Regions from separate parts of the Homo sapiens genome. Here regions 2, 3 and 4 are each linked to region 1. Evidence: promoter capture Hi-C in 16 types of primary human blood cells and fetal thymus (Javierre and others, 2016). All regions are on one chromosome and are shown on one strand. Each heading gives the region's core, a stretch centred on a gene start or on the middle of the fragment in contact. The rest is flanking DNA. Distances are from core to core; before and after follow the strand shown. Region 1 holds the start of ALDH4A1 (aldehyde dehydrogenase 4 family member A1). Region 2 overlaps UBR4 (ubiquitin protein ligase E3 component n-recognin 4). Region 3 overlaps UBR4 (ubiquitin protein ligase E3 component n-recognin 4). Region 4 overlaps PAX7 (paired box 7).

The links. The method cuts DNA at HindIII sites, captures the fragments that hold promoters and counts their contacts. A CHiCAGO score of 5 or more calls a contact.
Region 2: a fragment that was not itself captured here is called in contact with the fragment with the promoter of ALDH4A1 in region 1 in 2 of 17 cell types (fetal thymus and activated CD4 T cells); the score reaches 7.1 in fetal thymus.
Region 3: a contact is called between a fragment that was not itself captured here and the fragment with the promoter of ALDH4A1 in region 1, in 16 of 17 cell types (endothelial precursors, naive CD4 T cells, fetal thymus and 13 more). The highest score is 17.2, in endothelial precursors.
Region 4: a contact is called between a fragment that was not itself captured here and the fragment with the promoter of ALDH4A1 in region 1, in 1 of 17 cell types (fetal thymus). The highest score is 6.9, in fetal thymus.

What each region holds. Positions count from the first base shown.
Region 1 is chr1:18,900,933-18,903,806 of GRCh38, reverse strand. ALDH4A1 (aldehyde dehydrogenase 4 family member A1) reads left to right here and starts at 1,252. Exons shown (of 15, transcript NM_003748.4): 1 at 1,252-1,345. The coding sequence starts at 1,284. LOC124903866 (a long non-coding RNA gene) reads right to left here and starts at 1,694. Exons shown (of 2, transcript XR_007065519.1): 1 at 1,555-1,694; 2 at 436-997. RefSeq lists enhancers at 199-1,016, 956-1,185 and a silencer at 1,266-1,485. The HindIII fragment of the contact is 9,883 bases long and covers 956-2,874 here.
Region 2 is chr1:19,149,353-19,152,310 of GRCh38, reverse strand. UBR4 (ubiquitin protein ligase E3 component n-recognin 4) reads left to right here. Exons shown (of 106, transcript NM_020765.3): 48 at 452-668; 49 at 1,518-1,734. Among named protein-coding and RNA genes, the nearest start is that of UBR4, 59 kb to the left of the region's middle. The HindIII fragment of the contact is 4,359 bases long and covers 1-2,958 here.
Region 3 is chr1:19,094,400-19,097,130 of GRCh38, reverse strand. UBR4 (ubiquitin protein ligase E3 component n-recognin 4) reads left to right here. Exons shown (of 106, transcript NM_020765.3): 92 at 481-608; 93 at 1,479-1,586; 94 at 2,106-2,225. Among named protein-coding and RNA genes, the nearest start is that of UBR4, 110 kb to the left of the region's middle. The HindIII fragment of the contact is 5,286 bases long and covers 1-2,731 here.
Region 4 is chr1:18,658,370-18,661,511 of GRCh38, reverse strand. All of the region lies in intron 4 of PAX7 (paired box 7), which reads right to left. Among named protein-coding and RNA genes, the nearest start is that of PAX7, 29 kb to the right of the region's middle. The HindIII fragment of the contact is 3,395 bases long and covers 1-3,142 here.

The DNA of each region.
Region 1 (2,874 bases), core at 3-2,502:
ATTCCAATTTGCTTTTTGCCATTCCTAATACTTGGCATTTAGGTAATCTCCCTCTCCTACTCTTCATTTAAATGTTTACATTCTCCCAAAGTACCTCAAATGGTGTAATCTGGAGAAAAATAAGTGGCTTAAGATCACGGGGGCTTTGTGAGTTGGGTACTATTACTTCCGTTTTACAGATGAGGAAACTGAGGCCCGGAAAGGATATGTAGTCTGCCTAGTGCCCTGCTTGAGGAACCAAAATCAGCATGGGAACTGACTCCTAAGCAGGTGCGCGGTTCATGCTGCTGGAAGAAATATAAACAAATTAGAACAGAGAGTAAGGAAACGTAACATTACTTTAGGAATAGATTGGGTCCCTGAGACCTCGTCATCAGAGAAGACTTCAGAATCCAAGTTTTAAATAGCATTCTAGTGTTTACCAAGCACACAACATTTTGCAAAGAAAGCTGAAATTTTTACTTGGGGGTAAAAGGCTCAGGAACAACTGGTTTTGCGGCCAAAGGCTTTAAATGAAAAGCTAAGCGTTGGCCAGCTCAGGTTTTATCTTGCATTGATCGTAATCTGCAAGGAAGCTAAGAAGCTGGCCGGCCCCGCGCCTGGAGGGTAGGTGGAGAGCGGCTGGGTCCTGGCCAAGAAGCTGGAAGGCAGGCTCATTCCAGGGGCCGCAGCCCCCGGGAAGAAGCAGGGGGCTGGCCGCGCTGTGGCCCTGCGGGGTCGAGGAGTCTGGTAGCGGACAGGTTTCCAGCCTTGTACAAGCCACCGGCAGCCCGAGAGAAGTCAGTCGGACTCCCATCGAACCCGGGGCGCACGCCAGAGGGCCGGACGCAGCGAGTCCTTCTGCCCCGCTTCAGCACGTGTCCCATTTCGGTTATCTCATTGGCTCTATTCAGCCCCTCTCTGCTCCGCTTTGGAAGGCTGCCGCAGGACCGCCCCGCTGATTGGTTCAGAAGCTTTGGTGTGTCACTCTGACTGGTCGACAGAGTTCACGCCCTCTCTCCCGGGTCATACCATAAAGAGAGGAGGGGAAAACGCATGCATTTCAGGACTTCGCTTTCGGGTTCCCTTGTCCTGTGTTGTGTAATGCCCCCGTTATGGCACTAGAAATATTTTTTATTAGCCGAAGCTAAATATAGTGGGACTTTGGCTGATCCCGAGCTCGGAGGACAGCCGGGGTGATCCGTTTCCCCCCGAGGATCGAGGTGGTGCGCTCTGGACGGGGTTGTGCATTCTCGCCGCGCCCGGGCGGACGATCCAGCGAACAGCCCCGCTTCTAACCCGAGATGCTGCTGCCGGCGCCCGCGCTCCGCCGCGCCCTGCTGTCCCGCCCCTGGACCGGGGCCGGGTGAGTGAGCACGGGGCCCGGGGCGGCCCGAGCGCGCGCCTGGGGCCCGGGAGCCTGAGAGTCACTGGGCGTCCCCCGCGCCGCACTCCCTCCCTGCCGGACCCCCAAGCTGCCTCGGTCAACGCCGGGTTCCTCAGGGGCTCCCCTCCGACCCCCACCCAGGCCTTTCTCCCACTGAGATCCCTTAGCCTCCTCCCTCAGGTAGTCACCTTCCTTTAGCGAGGGGACCCCTCTTCCCGAATCCTGCGACCGAGTAGGGTGCCTCGGTGGCCCTGCCGGTTCCCACGCTCGGAAAGTAGCCTCTGTAGTCACTCACCTCACTCCTAATACTGGATCTTCGCAATTTGCTGGCTTCCCCTGAGGGGCCCTTCTATTTTTAGCACACCACACATCTCACTTCCCCACCCTCGTCTCACGTTCAGTGTCCCCATCCCGCCCCGGATTCCCCGAGTCCTCTCCTTCTACCAGGATTTCTACCTCTCTCTTTTCCGCTCCCCACACACCCCGCCGCCCGTTTTTTTTTTTTTTTTTCAAGTTAAATGTTGGACAGAAAAAAGGATTCCTTTCTTCTTGTAGGTGGAATAATCATATTTATAGAGTGCTTATAATGAACCAAATGCTGGCCGGGCAATTGGCAGGTGTCTTATGAGGATTAAATGAGTTAATACATGGGGAGTGCACTGAACAGTGCCCAGCACAAAGGCAGCGCCCGGTTATTATTATTGCCACGATCATCATCATTATCACCTCTATTTAAACTTCTCACTCCTGTGAGGCAGGTCATTATTCCAAATAATGAAGAAACCCAGGAGCAGTTCAGGGGTGGACCTGCCCTTCAAATCCCGATTTGCAAACCTGACATTGTGGAGCCAGGTGCCTGGACCCTTGCCCACTCAATGACAAATATTCTCAGAGCCCCTCCAGCTCGGAGCTAGGTTTGGAGAGGTAGGTGGGACACAGACCCTGCCCCAGAGGGGTTCCTAGTCTGGTGGGGCTGCCCACCTGTGGATCAGCCCCCCCTCCCATTTGAGGTTTGTTTGCTTGACCCCTGGGGCTGTTAGTGGCAGTGTCTTTCCTGATGAGCTGTGCCCTTTCTGAGTTAATCAGTGGCCCTCTCCCTTCCCCCAAGGGATGGCATGGTGGTGCTCTGAGCACAAGTGAGTTGCAACACTGCTGTGTGTCCTCTGTGGGTGAAGAGGGGATAGGAAAGGGCGCAGGAAGAGGACATGGGACAGAGGGGTTCCTCTTCTAGGCTGAGACTGGGGCCACACTTGCCATACTCCCTGTGTGATCCCGTTTGCAGGCCTTCCCTGCACTCTGAGACTCAGGAAGATGGAGCTTATAGAGTCCTGTGTTTACTGAGTGCCTACTGTGAGCTGGTGCTCTGCCAAACACCCTAGAGATGAGGGGTACCCAGGGAATTTACATGGGGTGGGGCCTTTGAGGAGTTTTCGGCTTAATAGGGGAGAAATGCATAGGAAAACCCTCCAATATCTAGTAGAAAGCAATCCATATTCTAAAAGATAAGC
Region 2 (2,958 bases), core at 351-2,850, 250 kb before region 1:
AAGAATGGCACTGGGCTGGGATCAATCCCTGGGTAGAAGGACTCAAACAATATGGTTTGAGAACACATCTCCTTTTAGAAAGCAAGTATAGAGTATATACTCACAGTCACAACCCTCGGTTCTAGTTAAATGGTTCCTTAGAAAAATGGATATTCTTACTCACTTGGCAAAGGACTTGTACAGGTTGGGTTTCCACCAATACCAGCAGGATTACTGTGTAGAGGACATCAAAGAGGTGGTTAATACTGGGGAGAAGGAAGCCTGACATTGAAGAGAATCTGCTCTCTTTTCCTATTTTCCCATTTTTAGAAACAAGGAAGTCATTACCAGGGAGTTAAAAGGATAAGTTTTAATGAGCTTCACATGTTGAGACAATGTCAGAGAAGAAGGAGTCCTAGTTAAAACTTAAGAACTTCTGTAGTTTCTTGATGTGTGCCTTGTCTCCCTACAGCCCGGAGGCTTCACCATTGAGATTAGTAACAACAATAGCACTATGGTGATGACAGGCATGCGGATCCAGATTGGGACTCAAGCAATAGAACGGGCCCCGTCATATATCGAGATCTTCGGCAGAACTATGCAGCTCAACCTGAGTCGCTCACGCTGGTTTGACTTCCCCTTCACCAGAGAAGAAGCCCTGCAGGCTGATAAGAAGCTGAACCTCTTCAGTGAGTCACCAACCCCTGGTGCAGACTCTGTCCTCATTGTGACTGCGAAATTGGGAGCCACTGGCCTGTGGCTGTCCAACATTCTGGGATCTCTCCACTCTGCTGATTTTTCTGTCCTTTCATCAGGAAACTTTGAGCTTCATTTGATGTATTAAAGAGGCAAGGTGACAGGAAAGGAGTACACCGGAGCATGGTAGCAGTAAAGATAGGGCTGCACTGTGTTGAGTATTCATTTCAATAGTGTTGTGTCCACCTCACTAATGGGGCTACTTCTGTGTTTAGGCCGAGAGGAGGCAGATTGACATGAAATTGCAAGGCTTTCTTAACGCACAGAGGAAGACCTCAGGTCACACATGGCTGAGAGATGGTTGGCAATGGCTTGCTATGCCACTGAAAACTAAACTCTCAGAATACAAATCCTTGAGCCTTACTCAAGACTGCATTTCTCTGTCATTTATTGGCCACTGTCTGATATTCTTTCTTCTAGATATAGTTGCTGTTAGTGTGAATGATCATGATCTGTACTTTGAACAAAGAAAGTGTGTAGAGACCCCTGGGAGTGAGGGGTAGGGGATACAATACTCTGAAGCAGAAGAGGACCCTTGCAGTGATGGTTAGGGACTCTTCTGAGTAGGAGACGTAATCGGCTTTTGGTCCATGGAACTTTTACCACATGTATTCAGCATATATACACGATTAAAGTGCTGCAAATATCTCAGAAGATAAAGTTTCTCTATGTCTATAAAATTGACGTGATTTACTTCTTTGCTCCAACTGTTCTGGTCTTTGCTTTGGAGGGGTGGCTTTTTAGAGAATGTGCTTCCTAAAGGCCTCTCTTGCTTATTGCAGTTGGGGCCTCGGTGGATCCAGCAGGTGTCACCATGATAGATGCTGTAAAAATTTATGGCAAGACTAAGGAGCAGTTTGGCTGGCCTGATGAGCCCCCAGAAGAATTCCCTTCTGCCTCTGTCAGCAACATCTGCCCTTCAAATCTGAACCAGAGCAACGGCACTGGAGATAGCGACTCAGCTGCCCCCACTACGACCAGTGGAACTGTCCTGGAGAGGTACCAGTGCTGGCAGGGGTTGGCTTCAGTTTTTACATATTCCACTCACTGCAGAACCTTCCTGTGTCTTGAGAGAGCCAGCTTCTAATAACCATCTCAAGGCTAGCCTGGAATTTTTTTAAGTTTTCATACAACTCGCCCACATTCAGTGTCTCTTTAGCGTGCAAAGCCTGAAAAATGTGCTCAGAGTCATCTGACACCAGAGTCTCTCCCTGGACAGAAGTTCTGTCCCTTCTCTTAATAATGCTCAGGTACCCTTTAGAGTAGCCAGAGGCCACAGGCTAGACGATGCTCAAGCCAGTATTCTAGATTAGGATCCAGGCTTGCTGAAATGATAGGAAAACATCCTCCCTTCCATTCTGAGCTCATCATCTTTTCATCATCTTTCTCTGCGTAGCTACTTCTGTGATAATAACATTGCCAGCAAGAGAGGCTGTCTGCTGCCTCTTGTAGCAGAGTCTAGAGTTTCCTTAAGTCTCCCTACAGTGGCATATTCTTAAGCATTGTGCTTGGCTTCTTTGTGCTAGGTAGCTGCTGGTTTGCCATGGTAGATGAAATATTATAATTCATGATGTAAGATTTTGAGTTTCTTACATTGTAAGTCACAAGAATAGCCTTGCTTGGAATCACTGCCTCCCACCACCAGCCTCCTCCCTCCCTTCCTTTCTCTTTCTTTTTCCCCGATGCCCTATCCATACATGGTTTGCTTAGGATGTGTTTCCGGGTTTCTCTGAGCTTCACATTTTTTTCCTTTTTTTTTTTTCTTTGCTTCTCCCCCAAGTTCTGAAACTGAGTCCCTAACCAAGCTGGACCGGTTAGTATGCCCTCTTTCTTTTCTCTGCACGAGTGAGTGTGTGTCAGAGAGCCGTGTAACCAATGGTGTGGCTTTGCATTGATTCTGCTTCTGTTGAAGAGTCTTCCTGCTTCTTTCTGTTCTGGTCATTGCATGGCTACAGAGCTGTCCATGTGTAAAAATGGAGTATATGGAAGATCGTAAGTGCACTCTTGGTGTTGGCCATGTCGGACACTCTCTCAACTCTCTCTTCCTTACCCTAGTCCTCTCTGCTCCCTTTCTAAGTGGATGAAAAGGGGGTTTGGGGTAGAGGGATTAACAGCAAAGTCCTACCATCTGATAACCCACTAGAGAGCTCGTTCTATCCAAATTTGTTTTATGCCTCAGTTTCCTCTTCCCTAGTTCTTTATTGCCTTCCTCTACCCCTTAAC
Region 3 (2,731 bases), core at 11-2,510, 190 kb before region 1:
GACTTAGGGGCATTCTCAGTTGCTTCTCTCTTGTACCTCTGCATCAGAATTGTGGGGAGATTGTTTCTTCAATTGAGGAAAAAAAGAGGTGTCTGTGGCATGATGCAGATACCACTGAGTGTTCAAAAAAAAAAAAAAGAATACCAGCAAACTTTTAGAGGAAAATGCAATGAACAGTAAACTGGAGTTCAGATTTATTTTTAACTCCCTCTCCCCCCACTCCATTGATGGTATTGGTGCTCATACTTTGACATTTGAGTAAGTAATTTTAATTGACTTGAAACTTTAAAAAAGCTCCTACTGAGAGTGGGACAGTTTAATATCATCCATCATTGACCCCTTTTATTGGCCGTGTCTTTATTGGAGATACGGAAAAGGGCTGTCAGCCATCAGCCAGGAATAGGGCTGTCTTATCCTGGCCTATTTTATTCCCATCTTCACCTTACCCTCCATTTCTGCTTGGCTTCCCTTCTCCCCTAGATGAAGAAGAAGATGAAGAAGAAGTGTATAAAATGGCTGGTGTGATGGCCCAGTGTGGGGGCCTGGAATGCATGCTTAACAGACTCGCAGGGATCAGAGATTTCAAGCAGGGACGCCACCTTCTAACAGTGAGTTGGGGGCAGCAAGTTGTGGGGGCCAGCCTTTCTGCACTGGGAGAGGCCCCTGTGGAAAGAAGCTATGGCCACTGTGTCATTTTACCCTAGAGGGCAGCATGGTGCCGTGGAGCAGTGCGAGCCAGTGAAGGACCTGGCAGTTAGGACTACATTCTTAGGCACACCTTTTCCCGTCCTGCTGGCCCACTTCCCTTCTCCAATACCTCTCTATAGAGCCAGCATCTGACTGTCTTTCCCCAAATAGCTGCACTTGTGTTAACTATTATCATTGTTGTTGTTTTTAAAATGGATTTTGTAATGTAACTCATTTCTTGCATTGTAGGGTTTTGTTTGGGTATTCATCCAACTAATCTCCTTAGTGAGGATTAGAGCATTCCAGAGAGGCACCACAAATACTACACTGTTATTTTCACTACTCCCCACCCCCACTCCCCCAGGGTTTATGAGAATATGTATTATTGTTATTATTGTGCCTTTGTTTTAAATGACCTATGTGGTTCTGAGCTCTCACAGGCCACGAGCTTTGGGATCATTTTCTTTACTATTAGTTTAGGGTCTGAGTTGATGCTGGGATTTCCCCCAAGACAACAAACAGAGCATCACCTCTTCCATTAGGAACTGCTGTCATTGCCGTTGTATTAGAGATGGTAGAGATATATCCCGCCATTGGAGCTACCAGCCTAATGTGAGAGCCCAGCCATCTCACCATGTCCCCTGAAGAGCCGCTTCTCCCTCCTGTCCTCTTCATTTCAGGAGGAGCCCCTGCTGATGGTGTAGACCCTGCTTAGACATCCCTTTCCTACTGGCCCCCATGTCCTACACTCTCATGTGGCCTCATGGGTTTTGACTGGCTTTTCTTGTCAGGTGCTACTGAAATTGTTCAGTTACTGCGTGAAGGTGAAAGTCAACCGGCAGCAACTGGTCAAACTGGAAATGAACACCTTGAACGTCATGCTGGGGACCCTAAACCTGGTAAGGAGCATGGACTGCAGGTGAAGAAGAGTGGGCCTTGGAAGTCTGGGTGTGAAAGACCTCTCAGTTCTGGGCTCAGATGAAATGGACTCACGGCTTCTTCAAGCCCTTCATCTCTCTGGCTGACTGGTGCAGAGGCTTGGGTCATTCAGCTGCCCTTCTCCTCTGGCTGGCTCACCTCCTGCCCCCATGCTGCTGCCATGGCACTCAAGAGCTTCCTTGCTCCTTTCCTGAGTTCAGATCAGAGATAAGAGGAAGGCAGTCCCTTAAACAGTCTAGACTACACACCAGTGGGAAAGAAGTGCCCCTCTCCTTGGGGCAGCAAAGCTGCCTGTCATCAAAAGCTCACACGCTTGTCTCCCTCTCAGAACATGCATATACACGCACATACATACACACGGTCATACACACATGGTCTCTGGGGAGTAAGGCTGTGAGGGCATCCTTGAGAGCAATTGTCCTCAGCAGTTAGTGGCTGTGGTCTTATTCTGAGAGTGACTGAGTCTCCTTCTCCTACAGGCCCTTGTAGCTGAACAAGAAAGCAAGGACAGTGGGGGTGCAGCTGTGGCTGAGCAGGTGCTTAGCATCATGGAGATCATTCTAGATGAGTCCAATGCTGAGCCCCTGAGTGAGGACAAGGTGAGTGGGGCTCGGCCCCTCCATCTGCAGGCACTGAGAGCCTGCACTGTCTCATTGCCCACAACAGGCCTGTTTGTGTCTGGCTTAGCCCACCTGAGAATGGCGGAGCCTGCTTAAGCATTGGAATGTTAGGACTCAACTAATGATGACATAATTGTATCGAAATGTGAAATCTTTGGATTCAGAGCAAGCACAATTGCTAAGGATAGTCTTTCACTCAAAAGCTGCTCGTTAATGGAATCCTGGCATGTCTCAGTTGATAGACAGAGGCTTTAGTCCAACCTTTCATTTCATAGTTGAGGAATTGAATAGCCCACTTCATTTCCCTGGACTTGGCATTTCCTCAGCTGTGGTACATAGTTGGTTACTGGTGGAATCAGGCCTAGAACCCAGATCTCCAACTCCCAGAATTTCTCTCCACCTGCTATGCCTGTAATTTCCTCCATTCTTATTGGTGCTAATGATTTGGCTAGAGCTATGACCAAGTGAATGTCCAGCAGCCTGCA
Region 4 (3,142 bases), core at 201-2,700, 240 kb after region 1:
CCAGATAGTCCCAGAGCAAGTGCTGGGAAAGGCCAGTTCGATCCTCTCAGCCTCTGCATGCCCATCAAGGAGCTGGAGGAGGATTAAAGTCTAATCCAAGAGACGTGGACACACCAAAGGCAAGTTTGGGGTGGGAGGAGAGATCAGAAAGTTTCTGCAAAGAGGCACAGGAAATGTGAGTTTGAAAAAATAAAGACGAATTCATTTCCACCTCATGGACCCCAAAGCGGGACTCTCCCACAGCCCCTATGCCCCCTACTCCTCATGGCAACCCTTACACTGAAGGGAGGGATATCTGTTTGCCTGTCTACCCCACCAAGCAAGGGGGCCTCTGAGGGCAGGGATGGACCCACGTTGTTCTGTTTCAGCCAAGCTCTGGGTATTTATTTCTCAACAGAGATTTACTGATCATCTAACAACCACGTGTCAACTGTCTAATCCTCCATGCTTTGGCCCCCTCCCTATTCTATGCCCCCTGCTCTAGCATGCGTGTGTGCTTTTTACTTTCCCCTCTAGCACTCTGAAGCCCTTACACTCACTATTTCACTTCAGCCTTACAAAACCCTAACGAGCAAAGTAGCTTTTGCTCCATTTTACAGCCAAGAAAACCGAGGGTCAAGGGGAGGAAATAGCTCCTTATGTGCCCATTTCTCCCCTAACTCATCCTCCAGGTCCCCCACCCCCGTGAGTCCTCTCTCCCCTCCCTTTAGCCGCTGGCTCACAGGCCAGGACTGGGCCCCACCTCTGAGCCCCCTTCTGTTTTTTCACTCAGGATTCCTGAGCCCAAGGAGGCAGGCTTGTTTATAGCCCTGCCAGTCCTGGTGCCTTGGTCCCAGCTCAGGTCAGCTCTCTGGGGCTAGTAGGGGCTTTTGAACGTGGTAAATACAGGTTGCAGGGGTCAGGGGTCACAGCCCTTCCTAGGGGGAAGTTAGACTTGAATCATCCATGAAATAGTAATGCTCATCTTGGGGCGTGGAAGGGAGGCAGATTTCTTAAATTATGATGACTCCACAACAACCCTCCCTCCACCTCCCAGGCCTCAATCATCCCCCACTTTGGTTTCCCTGGAAGGACTTGGCATCTGGATTTTCCGTTTTCCTCCCTCCTAATTTTGTCCTTAAGCCAGAAAAAATAAGGTGTCTAGGGGAAGAGAAGAGCAGAAAGGAAGAGAAGAATGTGGCGTGTGTCAGAGGCCTGCTGTGTCCTGGGCAGAGTTGGGTTGGAGTGGTGTCACCTGTCTTCCACAGGTAGGGGGATGACTTGGCCAAAACCTCCCAGCCAGCAAGTGGCAGAGCCAGGATTCGAACTTGAGTTGGTCTAAGTCAAAGAGCCAAGCTCCAAATGGGAGGCCCATTTGGCCCTATCCTAGGGGCCCCTCCCCTGACAGAGGCTCCAATTTGGGAGCGTTGATAAGGAGGACACCCCAGGCTCCAGCCACTGGGCTCCAATTCTACCCACAAACGTGGACGAATTCCGACCTCCTACATCCATGCTTCCCCTCAACCACCCCACGCAAGGGGCAGATGCCGAAGGGTAAGGTCCTCGAGCACATGGCCCGCTGGGCTTTTCCCAATTCTTTTGCAGTCACTCTTCCCTTCCAACCCATTCCTTAACAAAGGTGGGAGGAGGTTGAGGCCGTTCCTTGTGACAGGTACCTGAGCCCCACGGACCTACGGGATTGATCCTTACACGCCAGGGGGTAGGGTGAGCAACAATCCCAGTCTGCCTGGGACTGAAGGCTTTTCTGGAATGTGGGACCCTCAGTGGGAAAACCAGGAAAGTCCCAGGCCAAATGGGACAGTTGCCTGCTACCAGGACTCAGAGGCAGGGTTCCCACCTCTCAGGCAAGAGCAGTTTTCCCTCCACCTGGCTACTTGCCTAAGGTCCTTTCCTTTCCACTCTCTCTTTCCCCAGGGGAAAAACCACCAGGGAAGGTGAGTACAAATGACCTCCCTGGCCCTGCTAGCAGGGAAGCTCCTTAGAAGGTGAAGGTAAATGGCATGGGTGGAATTCTCTACACCATGATCATTAGGGACACTCCCTTTTCAGGCCCCCTCAGTAGCACCCAAATTAAGACAGATGTGGGATTGGGAGAGAGGGAGGAAGAGAAGTGGAAAGGAGGGGGAGGGAAAGCCTTGCCTTCAATTCTCAGCAGAGGCCTGGCTGCCCCCTCCCCTTTCCTGCTCAGGTGTCTCAGAGAAGTTCTCAAGTTAGGGAGCATTTATTGAGCACCTGTTCTGCATATGGTATTGCACTGGCACTAAATAGGTGAGATCAAAGCAGAATAAAATGTAGTTGACTGGTCCTTGCTCTCAAAGAAGGTCCTAATCTGGTGCAGGAGCTGAAAACACAGAACAAAACTCACTAGGACAGTGAATCTGCAGTACACACACAGACACACACATACACACACATGTCACACACATGCTTATGTGCACACAGTCACATGCATGCACACAAATACATATGCACACACATATACATACAGGCATGCACACATTACACATGCATGCACACACAACACACACATACATATGTGTACACACACACATATACGTGCATGCACACACACATATGCACACACACTCTCCAGCTCAAATGAAGGAAATTTTGGAGTTTTGCATAACCCTGGCTTGTTTGAGCAAGGGTTCCCTTAGCATTGATAATGAAGAAAGGTTTCTCCCAAGGCAACTTCATGTTTATGAAATGTCAACCCCAGCCAGCTCTCCTACAACCTTGCCCAGCCACGTGTCCTTGGGGTCAGGCTTCTACCAGCAAACCTTCCTTGCAGAACACATTCTCTCTGAGCTGCCTGAGCCATAGTCAGCCGGGCAGAAGCCTGCCATAGAACTGGGGCTAAGATTTGCTTTTGGCTTTAACCCCTGTCCTGCATGCAGCAGCTGAAAATCAGGGTGAGCCCCCAAGAGTGGGCCAGGCCTAGAGTTGCATCCCAGATGATTCCCTGAGAAAGTTACTTCTCTCTTGCCTCACTTTCCCTTCCATCATGTGGGGCCAATAACACCTACCTTGATGAAAAAGTCTGCAGAGGCGATGGTACACCTGGGTCCCTAGTCCAGCCCCTGCTACACAGTAAGTGTTCGGAAACGGGGTGATTATTATAAGCATGCACTGGAAGGAACAG